2 separate regions of the Homo sapiens genome follow, and region 1 is linked to region 2. The links are contacts of gene promoters, found by promoter capture Hi-C in blood cells and fetal thymus (Javierre and others, 2016). All regions are on one chromosome and are shown on one strand. The core of a region is centred on a gene start or on the middle of the fragment in contact, and the rest is flanking DNA. Distances in the headings are between cores, read along the strand shown.

Region 1 (6,759 bases), core at 2,882-5,381, 220 kb before region 2:
TCTGCTCTGCCTGCAGACCCTCTGGAGAGCCCACCAACAGGTAAGGACTTGGGTAGAGATCGGATGAGACTTGGGTGTCTGGGACATCCTAGTTGAGCTTGGAAGTGTCAGGTACAGAGTTGGGGATAGGGCTTAAGCCACCTCCCAGGGCAGGGCTTGGTATATAAAGATGGGATGTTGATGTCAGAGGCTTGAAGTTCAATTCTTAAATGCAGAACTTAGTGTTTTAAGGGTGGGCTAATTCCCCTGTGCACAAAGTTGAGCATGTGGGGAGGGGCTGAGACACTGCAGCCAAGGAATATCCACCTGTGACCCTCTCCTTTCCTCAGCCCCAGATCCTGCTCTGGAGCTCCCATCCACCCCACCACCGTCCAGCCTTTTACGCCCCCGCCTCAGTCCCTGGGGCTTGGCCCCGCTCTTCCGTTCCGTCCGCTCCAAGCTGGAGAGCTTTGCTGACATCTTCCTCACGCCCAACAAAACCCCACAGCCCCCACCCCCGTCCCCCCCAATGAAGCTGGAGTTGAAGATCGCCATCTCAGAGGCCGAGCAGTCTGGGGCTGCTGAGGGCACTGCGTCTGTCAGCCCCCGGCCCCCAATCCGCCAGTGGCGAACTCAGGACCACAATACCCCAGCACTTCTCCCTAAGCCCTCTCTGGGCCGAAGCTACTCCTGCCCTGATCTGGGGCCCCCTGGCCCAGGTACCTGCACCTGGCCACCTGCTCCACCCCAACCAAGCCGACCACGGCCGCGGCGGCACACTGTGGGTGGTGGGGAAATGGCCCGAGCCCCGCCACCCCCTCGGCCCTGTCTCCGGAAAGAGGTCTTCCCTCTCGGAGGAGTGGGAGCCTCCCCTTCTCTCACCACATCTTGCTCGTCCACGGCATCCACTTCCTTCTCCGAACCAGCAGAACCCAGGTAGTGCTCTCAAAAAACCCCCTTGAAGCCTGGCTGCAGCCTGGTCCCAGCCTCCTTCCCTGAGTATCCAGTGGGCAGGAGACGGGGGATAATGCAGTGAATCCTGTTTGTCCCTGAGCCTTGACCTTCTTGGCAGGTTGGGTTCAACCAAAGGGAAGGAGCCAAGAGCCTCAAAGGACCAGGTGCTTTCAGAACCTGAGACCAAGGTAGGCATTCAGATCGGGTAGAAGAGACTAGTGGGGGCCTGAGCCCATGTCACTCTTTCACCCTCTGCCCCATTTTTGCAGACCATGGGAAAGGTTTCTCGATTCAGAATACGCAGAACACCAGCCCGTCCTCAGCTAAACCTTACACCAATGGGACTGCCTCGACCAATCAGGTGAGGGGCTCACTGGGCATTGAGCCATCTTGGCCAAACAGATGCAGGCTTATGTCCCCTGAAGTATAGCTTTGTCTCCCCTCAGGGAGCACAGTCCAGCCTGAAAGATTCAATTCGGTGTGGGGATGGTTTGTGCTCAAAATTGCCTGTCTGCCTTATGTAGCACTCCTGGCCCTGACATGTCCCAGAAACTGAAATACAGACCAGGCCTTACCTGTCCCTTCAGGCCCCACTGGCCCAAGGTTTCTCAGTGGCCTCTGCTCTTTGCTCACAGGTTGAACAAGAAGGAGTTCAGCTTGGAAGAAATTTACACCAACAAGAATTACCAATCACCCACAACCAGGAGGTGAGACACTTGGAAGGCTAGAGGGTGGCAGAGGGAAATCTGGAGCTGTGGAGCACCCTGATAAAACCAGCTCCTCTCCCTGCCTTGTTCAGGACCTTTGAGACCATCTTTGAGGAACCCCGGGAGCGCAATGGGACTCTGATTTTCACCAGCTCAAGGAAGCTCCGGCGGGCTGTGGAATTTCGGGACAGCAGCCTTCCTCGATCACGAAGACCGTCCCGTGGGGTCCGGGCTGCAGGGGGCAGGACTGTTCCTCCCAATGTGGCCCCCAGCCCTGATGTGGGCCCCCTGCTCCAGCAGCGGCTGGAGGAGCTAGATGCCTTGCTCCTGGAGGAAGAAACAGTAGATCGGGAGCAGCCCCACTGGACCTAGGTGCCCCATCTGTTGGTCATCCATCCTGAAGGGACAGGAAACCTCCCAGGCAGTTATTTTTTTTTCTCTATATTTCTAGTAAAGTTTTCGATATGTTTCTGATTCTTTTGTATCTCTAGCTGAGTTTAAGATTGATTTGGCTGATGTTTCTACGTTGACCCCCAAAGGTCTGGGAACTGGGGCTGGTGCTAGAGATGGTGACAGGGGTTGGGTACAGAGTACAGGGAGGGGGTGAAGTGGTCACTTGAGATAGATAGATAGATAGATAGATAGATAGATAGATAGATAGATGATAGATATAGATGGAGTTCCGCTCATGTCACTCAGGCTGGAGTACAATGGCACGATCTTGGCTCACTGCAACCTCTGTCTCCCTCATTCAAGCGATTCTCCTGCCTCAGCCTCCCAAGTATCTGGGATTACAGGCGTGCGCTACCACACCCGCTAATTTTTGTATTTTTAGTAGAAACTGGGCTTCACCATGTTGGCCAGGATGGTCTTGAACATCTGACCTCAGGAAATCCGCCTGCTTTGGCCTCCCTAAGTGCTGGGATTACAGGCATGAGCCACCATGCCCGGCCTAGAGATACTCTCTTGCTTAGAGGATTCTCCTGTGTGGAGGGACACTTCTGAATCAGTGCCAGATGATACTGTGACCCTAGACCGTGGTCTGGGTTCTCCCAATTCATTTATATCAAGGAGACTGAAAGGCCTATAGTGGGTCAAGGCCTTGAAGATCAAGATGGCCCTGAATTCCTGCTAACATGCAGGCCAGGACCTGCTGCTGGATTCAAGAGCTACGGCTAGGCCAGGTGCGGTGGCTTACGCCTGTAATCCCAGCGCTTTGGGAGGCCGAGGCAGGTGGATCACAGGAGCCTAGGAGTTCGAGACCAGCTTGGCCAACATGGTGAAACCCCGTCTCCACTAAAAATACAAATATTAGCTGGGTGTCTTGGTGTGTACCTGTAATCCCAGCTACTCAGGAGGCTGAGCCAGGAGAATTCACTTGAACCCGAGAGGCAGAGGTTGTAATGAGCTGAGATCGCACCACTGCACTCCAGCTTAGGGAACACAGCCAGACTCTGTCCCCCCCAAAAAAACAAAACAAAACAAAGAGCTAAGAGTAATGGGCCATAATGAAGCACTCACGACGACTGTCATAGGTGCTTGACCTGCACATGTCCCTGCGACAGGGAATTAGTCATTTTATGGACGAGAAAGCAAGGCAGGCATGTCAGCGCGCTGTCCACTTTTAAAACGGTAACCCGGGCAACCGAAGGCCAGAAATGGCTGTCTCTTTTTTTTTAAGCCAGTCACATTGAGCAGTGGGGTGCATCTTTCATAACTGAGAGGCATCACAGGGCAGTGGCTGACATAGACGTGGCTAGGAGACTACCAGCCCGTCTGTGCGCGCATTCCTTTCCGTCCCAGTAAAATGGGGCTGACAGCATCTCCTTCATGGAATTATTACCAAACGCAGTCACAAACGCGGAGAAGCGCTCATGCAGGTGCAAGGCGTTTTCGAATTGCTAGCACTCGGGACCGCTGCCAGCAGCCGCGCCTGGAAGGGACGCGGCTGCCTGTTAGTGCGGCCGGCGCAGGCGCAGGCACAGCACGCGGCCGCTCGGGCCACCCCGGGCCGCGGAACGACTCGCAAGCAGCCAGCCTGACGGCGGCGCCGCCACGCGCGTGCGCGAGACGCCAGGCTGTCTGTGGGCCGCGCCGAGCGGCGGAAAGGCGGCGATGACTTAACTGGCTGTGGAACGGAACCTCTTGCAGCCGCGCGCCCCCCGGCGGCCAACCGCCCCCAACGCCTCAGGCCCCGCGTCTCCGCCCCTCGCCTCGACGCCATCAGGAGACCGGCCAATAAACAAACAGCAGGAAGAGGCGGGGCCCTGTAGTAACCGCCCCAAACACCTACTTCTAACCAGTCGAGTCACAAGACTGGGGGGAAGGGCGGAGCCAATCCGACGTAACCCAATCCAAGATTTGAGGGCGGTTACATGCACCCACTCCCTCGGGTTTGGCTCCGCCCCTCACCTTGACGTAGCCCTCCCAGCCTATCAACGACTGCGCCCGTTGGGGGTGAGGGGAAGGGGGCGGAGCGTGGGAGGAGGCCGAGAGAGGAAGGAGGCGTAGGCTGAGGAGGAAGAGGGAGGAGGGGTAGGGAAGTCCTGGCGGAGAAGCGCCCTAAGACTCCAAAGGAGACAACAGGAGTTTGTGCTGGAGCTCCCCCGCTGCCCATCGGCCGTTCCGGATCCCCTAAGGCCCAAGTCGGACAGAGACGGAGGAAAGGAGGAAGAGACTTTTATGTCGGCGGACAGGGGAGCTGTACCCGTCACCGTTGCCTCACATCCGGGGCTTTGGAGGGCTGGCCTCGCTGCCCCGCCCCGCCTCGCGCCTTTCATGGCGACCGGAGGCGGAGGCTGGAGGAGCTGGGCCCGGAGGAGGCCCCTTTAAATCTCCTTAAAGGGGTGGCCACTGAACTCGGCGGACTGCAACGCCAGCCTTAAAGGGGAAGCCGCCGAGCAGACGCTGACAAATTGAGAACTGTGCCGTTGGGAGAACTGGGGCGAGTGGGGTTTTTCTTTACGTCCTCCTCCCCCACACACAAGAAGTCTTTTAAATTCAACTTAAAGGGGAAGTGGCCGCTTGTGGAGGACTAGAAACTAACTCCGAGCCCTTAAAGGGACGGCCTGCTGTTAGAAGGACCCTGGACTCCTTAAAGGGGTGGCCTCTTTGAGCCGGAGGACTTGAGACACTTTTAAAGGGGAGGTCTGCGTTTCGGGGCGAGCTTTCGGCCCCTTTTAAAGGGGTGGCCCTTCCTCTTCCTCGGGGAGACTTGCATCGACCCCTGGCAGGGGGTGGCCACCGCACTAGGCCGCCGGACACTGTCGGGTCGTCTTAAAGGGGCCGGGAGCTGGACAACTTGGGGCCTCGCCTTAAAGGGACGGCCGCCCCGTTTTCGCCGTCGCGGCCCCGCCGAGCCCGCAGGGGGGGCCCTCGGGCTTGTCGCCCCGGGGGCGGCGCCGGCTCCCCGGGCCGTGGCCTTGGGGCAAGCTCGGGGCCAGCAGATCCGGCTTTAAAGGAGAAGCCGTGGCCCTCTCGTCACTGTGCAGCCGCCAGCGCCGCGCCTGCGACCCCGGGCCTGCGGACAGGCCGCTTCGGGCCCCGCCGCCTCCGGATGCGGCGCTGAGGGCGGTCGCCATGGAGACGGCAGCGGCCGCGGCCCCGGGTCCGGGCTGGGCAGCAGAGGGGGAGCGCCGACGGCGGCGCTGCTCGCGCCGAGACCGAGACCGGGAGCAGCGGCGCCGCCGAGGTCCAGGCGGCGACGCGCCCCGGGCCCTGTTGGCCGCCCCGCGCGGCTCCTCGTCCTCGTCGTCGCCGCCGCCGCCCGCCAGGCCTTGGTCGTCAGCTTCGTCTGGAGAGCGGCCTGGGGGCCCGAGACGCCGGCGGCCCCGTCCGAGACCTCGACCCCCGCGACCCCGAGCTCGGAAGCGGCCTGCCGGCTCGGGCAGCCGCGGGGAGGAAGAGGAGGAGGAGGAGGAGGAGGGGGGCGCAGACGACGGCGAAGCCGAGGAGGAGCCTGAGGAGGAGGAAGAGGAGGAGGAGGACTTGATCGATGGCTTCGCCATCGCCAGCTTCGCCACCCTCGAGGCCTTGCAGGTGGGGCCTAATGGGGCTAGGAGACTTTGGGGGTTTCCGAGGGGCAGCAAGGAGGGGGCAGTGCCCCTAGTGGGTGGAGTTGAGGGGGGAATGCTGGCACCCCAAACCAGAGCAACCGGCTCCTCTGGCCAGGCCTCTGCCCCGCCCTGGGGTGGGAGGAGGTAGAGCTCGTCTCTGGGGACCCGGTTTCCCGGCCCGAGGGGTACTTCGGCAACCTGGTCACCCCTAGAGGGGTTGGGAGCTTGCCCTTTTCCATCTATCTCAGCCCCACCTCCTCCTCCACAGAAGGATGCATCTCTTCAGCCCCCAGAGCGACTGGAACATCGGCTGAAGCATTCTGGGAAGCGGAAAAGGGGGGGCTCCAGTGGGGCCACCGGGGAGCCAGGGGACAGCTCTGATCGAGAGCCTGGCCGGCCCCCTGGGGATCGGGCCCGAAAATGGCCCAATAAGCGGAGAAGAAAAGAGGTGAGGTTGTCCCTTAAAACTCTTTAGGCAGAATGTATTTCCCACAGCCCCGTTTTTCATCAGCAACGCCACTGCCCCTTGTAAACAGAGACCCCAGTTTCTAAGGGCAAAGAGGCAAGCAGGGCAAATTTGAGCCCTTACTCATCCGGGTCTGACGAAGGCCTGTCTACAGTCAGGTGCACCTCCTTTTGCCTGGTTCTGTGTCTACTTCAAACGTTTTGATAATTCAGAGAGGCGTCAAAGGAATATAGTTGGGTCGTAAATTAATTGTGGTTCCTGCCCTTCCTCGAGGTGGTGGCAGTCCAGCAGAAAAGAAATAGCCAGCAAGCAAACACCTAGACCTTAATTTGAGAAGCTACAGAAGACAAAGATGGGGAGAGATGCTACAGAAACCCACATGAGGAAGCCGCTTGTGCTGCCTGGGGGATGGGAGGAGAGTTGTGGTTGGGGAAAGCCCCCTAGGATGTCTTAGTCAGGTCCTGAAGTATAGTCAGAAGTTTGCTAAGAAAAGACACGGGGAAAAGTTGTTTTGGGCAAGAGCATGAAGACGTGAGGACCCGGCGTATTTAGAGAATGGTGAGAGCACTGGGACCCGGGTGGGCAGTGGCGGGAGAAG
Region 2 (5,975 bases), core at 1,410-3,909:
ACCACTGCCATAAATGAGAAATTATCATGTACCCAAGAGTGGTAAAAATAGATACAATAAAACCAAAACAATGCTGTTCAGTTCTAGCTGGCTATGATTATAGGCCAGGGCTCTGAGCTCAAGGAGTTGATTTTGTTAAAAACAACAACAAAAAGGTTATCTCAGTCAAAAAAGGCCACATAAAGCCCTAATATGAAATGTCCAAAATAATCAACTCTATAGAGACAGAAAGTAGATTTGCAGTAGTCTAGAGCTGTAGTGGGAGGAAGGCTTGGGAGTTACTGTTAATGGGTATGGTTTCTTTTAGGGGTAATGAAAATGTTCTAAAATTGACTGTGGTGATATTTGCAAAACTGTGAAGATACTAAGAATCATTGAACTGTACACTTTAAATGGGTGAGTTGTATGGTGTGTGAGTCATCTCTCTCAGTAAAGGTGTTATTTTAAAATACGTATATATGGGCCGGGTGTGATGGCTCAGACCTGTAATCCCAGCATTTGGGGAGGCTGGGGCAGGCAGATCACTTTTGAGCTCAGGAGTTCCAGACCAGCCTGGGCAACATAGCAAAACCCTGTCTCTACTAAAAATACAAAAATTACCCAGGCATGGTAGCAGCAGCCTGTAATCCCAGCTACTCGGGAGGCTGAGGCAGGAGAATCGCTTGAACCTGGGAGGCGGAGGTTGCAGTGAGCCGAGATCGAGTCCCTGCACTCCATCCTGGGCCACAGAGCTACACTGTCTCAAAAAAAAAAAAAATTGTACAGATATATATACACACACACACATATAGAAAAATTATATAATTTTTCCTCCTCTCTCTATATACATATATATATAGATATATGTATACACACACACACACACACACAGAGGAAGGTATAGGTGTCAAACCTTTTTTTTTTTTTTTGAGACAGATTCTTGCTCTGTGGCCCAGGCTAGAGTGCAGTGGTGCGATCTTGGCTCACTGCAACCTCTGCCTCCCGGGTTCAAGGGATTCTCCTGCCTCAGCCTCCCGAGTAGCTGGGATTACAGGTGTGTGGCACCACATCCGTCTAATTTTTGTATTTTTAGTAGAGACAGGGTTTCACCATGTTGGCCAGACTGGTCTTGAACTCCTGACCTCAAGTGATCTGCCCGACGTGGCCTCTTAAAGTGCTAGGATTACAGGCGTGAGCCACTGAGCCCAGCCTAAATTCAATTATTAAACTCCTTGAGTTAATTAAAGGGTAGCCAGGTGCGGTGGCTCATGCCTGTAATCCCAGCACTTTCAGAGGCCGAGGCAGGAGGATCGCTTGAGCCCAGGAGTTCCAGACCAGCCTGGACAACATAGCGAGATCCTGACTCTACAAAAAACAGAAAAATTAGCCGGGCGTGGTGGCGCGTGTTTGTAGTCCCAGACACTCCTGAGGTTGAGGTGGGAGGATCACCTGAGCCCTCGGGAGGTCGAAGCTGCAGTGAGCGGAGATCGCACCGCTGCACTCCAGCCTGGGGGACAGTGAGGCGGTCTCAAAACAAAACAAAAACAAAAGGGGAGGGCGGGGGGAAGACTTAAAGACCCCTGAGCCAGGGCCATTATTATTTAACTTGGTCGGGTCTCTGAACCATTCGGAGGAAGCTTGGGTTTCTATCCTTCCCGACTGAGCCACAGACCTGAGTCTTGACTCCGGATAAATCACCCCAGACTGTTTTTCTGTCTGTGACACGGGAACGGCAGCTTCTGCCTCGCGAGGTGGAGAGAGAATGAGAAGCGCCGTGTGTGGCGCGCCTGACACGGTCAGCTCGCGGGTGGAGGCCCGGAGCAGAACGCCCTCGGGCGCCCGCTCTTGCAGCCGCACTGGAGACCGGGAATGGCTCCGGCCACGCCTCTGCCGACTGCGGCAACGCGAGGGACAGCTGGTCTCCGGGGTTGCAGCGTAACGCCCTCCTTCCCGGCCTCATCTTTCCTGACTGCATAACGGGCATACAGTGGGTTCCATGGCGCAAGGGAGCTGAAGAAGCCGCCCGCCCCCAGCTCGCCCGGGATCCTCACGCCCCTATAACGCCCCGAGGGGCCACGATGCTGCCCACAGCCCAGATCGCGAGTGCGGACCCTGCGGGAGGGTCTGGCCTAGATGCGAGTTTCCCGCCGCAGACCAGGCGAGGCCACGCGACATATCCCCTACCCGCTTACTGCAGGCCGCAGACGGAGACAGTGCAGCCCTGCGCACTGCTGAGGTTGCCCGAGGTCTCAGCCTCGGCGGGTCGGGAACACGCGGCGCGCGCCCGCGCCCCAACCGGAAGTCCGCCACCGGCCGCTCTAGCACGCGCAGGGCTGCGTCTGTGGCCTTAACCCTTCCCAAGGCTGCGCCGCCGGCCTTTGTCTCCGCGGAGCGTCACAAAGGTTGGAAGGGTCGCGGGGCCTCTGGGTGCCGAGCTGCAGATGCCTCCACTGCGAGCACAGCCCTGAGACAAGGGCCCAGGCGCCCAGCGGGGCTGGTTTCACTCAGTCCAGCCGCACCTACCCGTGCCCTCACCAGATCTTAAGATACAGACATTAAAACCTCCACCGGGCCGCGGCACAGGACAGCAGTTTTACTTTCTGTTTTTGGCATTGCATTGCCTCCATTTCCTAGAGTGCACGTAATAAATACCGCTGGTGATTCCAAAATATAAAGGTTGAAAATATTTACTTTACAAAAATTTGGTTCCCATACTGCTTTTAAGGCCATCCTCTGCACTTGGTTCCCGCTGCTCCTGATGTGGTTGAAAGATGGATGACCCCAAAGACGAGGAAAAGATTATTGGCTCCATTTTTTAGATGCGGCAGCCAGCTAAGGTCTAGACAGGGGAAGGGACTTGCCCCAAATCACAGTTAGAGCAAATCAGTCTGAATCAGGAATAACTCCATTCCTATCCCGCATCCTGCCCTTTCACTACGCCACAGCTGCCTGGCTGCCTGGAGGAACAAAGGAGGGCCGGGCAAGAACGCCATTACCAACTGCAAATCCACAGGCAAATGCAAGAGGACAGAAAGTAAGTTCTTGGGCTCTGCCCTTGTGCCGTACCCGGAGGGGTTCTGGGGTCACCAGCCAGGTGCATCCCTGCCTTCACAGCCATGCACAGCGACACCCAGTTAACTAATGGGGGGGATTATGCCACTTGCTGGGTATGCCTGTGCCACCAGTGCACTCACTCTGTGCCTGGGGAAATAACCACGGATGAATCTGGGGATCCCCTGGGCCCACTGTGAAATGGACCTGAGCTAAAACTCCATTGATCACAGGACCTCAGGGATCTTTTGGGTCTCGAGAACAGAATTGGATGCTACAGGAGAAATGTAACCAGAAAAGGATTAGGATTTTGCCAGTAGAGAAAGGGAGATGTGCTTGCTTTCATTCATTTATCATTAATGAGCACCTACTGTATGCCAGGCACCACACTAGGCCCTAGGAAGACAGAGATTATGAGACAGATGTGGCCTTATTCTAGCAGGGGAAGTGAGATGAAGGAGGTGAGAAAGAGGAAGTATAGTGACTAACCAGGGACCTGACCTAGTTTGAAGGTCAGGGAACCTTGGAGGAGGTGAAATCAAACCCAAAGCCTGAGATAAGAGAGAGAAGGGGAGGGTGGAGGGAAGGAAAGGGCTTCACAGACAGAGGGAACGGGAGTGCTAACAGCCTGGCCAGCTTCCTTGTGGTAGAAGTTCTATGCATGAGTTGGAAGAAAGCTTGGGGAAAGGGGCAGGAGAGGTGGGCAGGGGCCAAATCCAGCAGGGGCTTTTCTACCATAAGGAACTTGGTGGGAGAACTCCATGGGCAAAAACAGGTGTGGAAGGGACCAAGAAGCCCATGTGGCTGGAGGGCAGGACATGAGATGAAGATGACTAGAGCAGGGAGTGAGGAGGTGGAGAAGGTGAGCAGAGGCCAAGGCTGGGAGGCCTGAAATGCCTGGCCGCAAAACTCAGCCATTAGCCTGGAGGCCATGCAAGTGAACAGCAAGGAGGAGAGTGGAACACCAGGGAGCGGTAGGGATTGCGGGGACTGAAGGGCAGAGACTCCGCCCCCAGGGCAGTCAGTGTTCTGCACCCCCTACCCCCCTACCCCACCAACCTCCGCCCCATGACCACTCCAGGAGGCAAACTCAGTATCTCAGAATATCTGCTTTCAAGGGTAGCTGGAGTCCAGATTTCTTTTTTTATTTTTGGTAGAGACAGGATCTTGCTCTGTCGCGCAGGTTGAAGGGTAGCAACACATAGCTCACTGTAGCCTCAACTCCTAGGCTCAAGCAGTCCTCCTGCCTCAGCCTCCCAAAGTGCTGGGGTTACAGTGTGAGGCACGTCACCCGGCCTGAGTCCAGATTTTTTTTTTTTTTTTGAGACGGAGTCTCGCTCTTTCACCAGGCCCGAGTGCAGTGGCACTATCTCGGCTCACTGCAAGCTCCGCCTCCTGGGTTCAGGCCATTCTCCTGCCTCAGCCTCCCGAGTAGCTGGGACTACAGGCACCCGCCACCGCGCCCAGCTAATTTGTTGTATTTTTAGTAGAGATGGGGTTTCACCGTGTTAGCCAGGATGGTCTCGATCTCCTGACCTCGTGATCCACCCGCCTCGGCCTCCCAAAGTGCTGGGATTACAGGCGTGAGCCACCGCGCCCAGCCTAGTCCAGATTTTTATATGAAATCACTTGATTTTAATGTTGCCAACATGTTCAACACCATGTAAGCCAAACAAATCACATTCACAGGCTCACAGCTCCAAGCTTTGCAGCATGTTAGCATCACCTGAGGAGCTTGTAAAAATCCCAGGGCCCTTGGCCGGGCGCAGTGGCTGATGCCTGTAATCTCAGCACTTTGGGAGGCCAAGGCGGGTGGATCACCTGAGGTCAGGAGTTCGAGACCAGCCTGGACAACATGGTGAAACCCCATCTCTACTAAAAATACAAAAATTAGCCGGGTGTGGTGGCAGGCACCTGTAATCCCAGCTACTTGGGAGGCTGAGGCACGAGAATGGCTTGAACCTGGGAGGCGGAGGTTGCAGTGACCCAAGATCATGCCACTGCACTGCAGCCTGGGCGATAGAGCTAAACTCAAGACTCAAAAAAACAAAACAAAACAAAAAATCCCAGGGCCCAGGTTGCACATGATACCAATGTAAAATGTCTGGGGTGGGGCCGGGTGTGGTGGCTCATGCCTGTAATCCCAGCACTTTGGGAGGCCGAGGGAGACGGATCACAAGGTCAGGAGATTGAGACCATCCTGGCTAACACGGTGAAACCCCGTCTCTACTAAAAATAAAAAAATTTAAAAAAATTAGCTGGGTGTGGTGGCACGCGCCTGTAGTCCCAGCTACTCGGGAGGCTGAGGCAGGAGAATCACTTGAACCCAGGAGGCAGAGGTTGCAATGAGCCGAGATCGTGCCACTGCACTCCAGCCTGGGCGACAGAGCGAGACTCTATTTCAAAAAAAACAAAAATGTCTGGGGTGGCTGGGCGTGGTGGCTCACGCCTGTAATCCTGGCACTCTGGGAGGCCGAGGTGGGTGGATCACGAGGTCAGGAGCTTGAGACCAGCCTGACCAACATGGTGAAACCCAGTCTCTACTAAAAATACAAAAATTAGCTGGGCGTGGTGGCACGCACCTGTAATCCCAGCTACTCAGGAGGCTGAGGCAGAAGAATCACTTGAACCCGGGAGGCAGAGGTTGCAGTGAGCTGAGATCGTGCCACTGCACTCCAGCCTGGGTGACAAAGCGAGACTCCGTCTCAAAAAAAAAAAAAAAAATGTCAAGGGTAGAAGGCAGCCATCAGAATATTTAAATGATTCCCCAGGTGATTCCAGTATGCACACTACCAGAGACTACGTGCTTTCAGTTGCCAGGCTCAGCCATGGGGAGCCATGGGAAGTTTTAGAACAGGAGAGGAGCCCAGTTTAGAGTTTAAGGAAAATCATTCTGTAGGAGGAACAGAATGTAATCTTGTGTGAAAAGGGTCCGGAAGCCCCAA

What was found. The method cuts DNA at HindIII sites, captures the fragments that hold promoters and counts their contacts. A CHiCAGO score of 5 or more calls a contact.
Region 1: a contact is called between the fragment with the promoter of FBRS here and a fragment that was not itself captured in region 2, in 2 of 17 cell types (fetal thymus and M0 macrophages). The highest score is 5.1, in fetal thymus.

What each region holds. Positions count from the first base shown.
Region 1 is chr16:30,654,300-30,661,058 of GRCh38, forward strand. FBRS (fibrosin) reads left to right here and starts at 4,132. Exons shown (of 18, transcript NM_001105079.3): 1 at 4,132-5,678; 2 at 5,964-6,143. The coding sequence starts at 5,220. PRR14 (proline rich 14) reads left to right here. Exons shown (of 12, transcript NM_024031.5): 7 at 1-40; 8 at 330-915; 9 at 1,052-1,121; 10 at 1,203-1,294; 11 at 1,569-1,640; 12 at 1,733-2,114. The coding sequence ends at 2,012. RefSeq lists silencers at 3,548-3,807, 3,838-3,917, 3,968-4,147, 4,968-5,197, 5,268-5,317 and enhancers at 4,398-4,847, 6,528-6,687. The HindIII fragment of the contact is 16,259 bases long and covers 1-6,759 here.
Region 2 is chr16:30,873,106-30,879,080 of GRCh38, forward strand. It overlaps MIR4519 (microRNA 4519), which reads right to left and starts at 2,218; the gene lies at 2,161-2,218. MIR762HG (MIR762 host gene) reads left to right here and starts at 2,355. Exons shown (of 3, transcript NR_110942.1): 1 at 2,355-2,381; 2 at 2,925-3,013. It also overlaps a transcript of BCL7C not described here. RefSeq lists enhancers at 883-1,638, 1,639-2,393, 1,928-2,187, 2,394-3,148, 2,458-2,667 and 1 more and a silencer at 3,068-3,127. The HindIII fragment of the contact is 2,091 bases long and covers 1,615-3,705 here.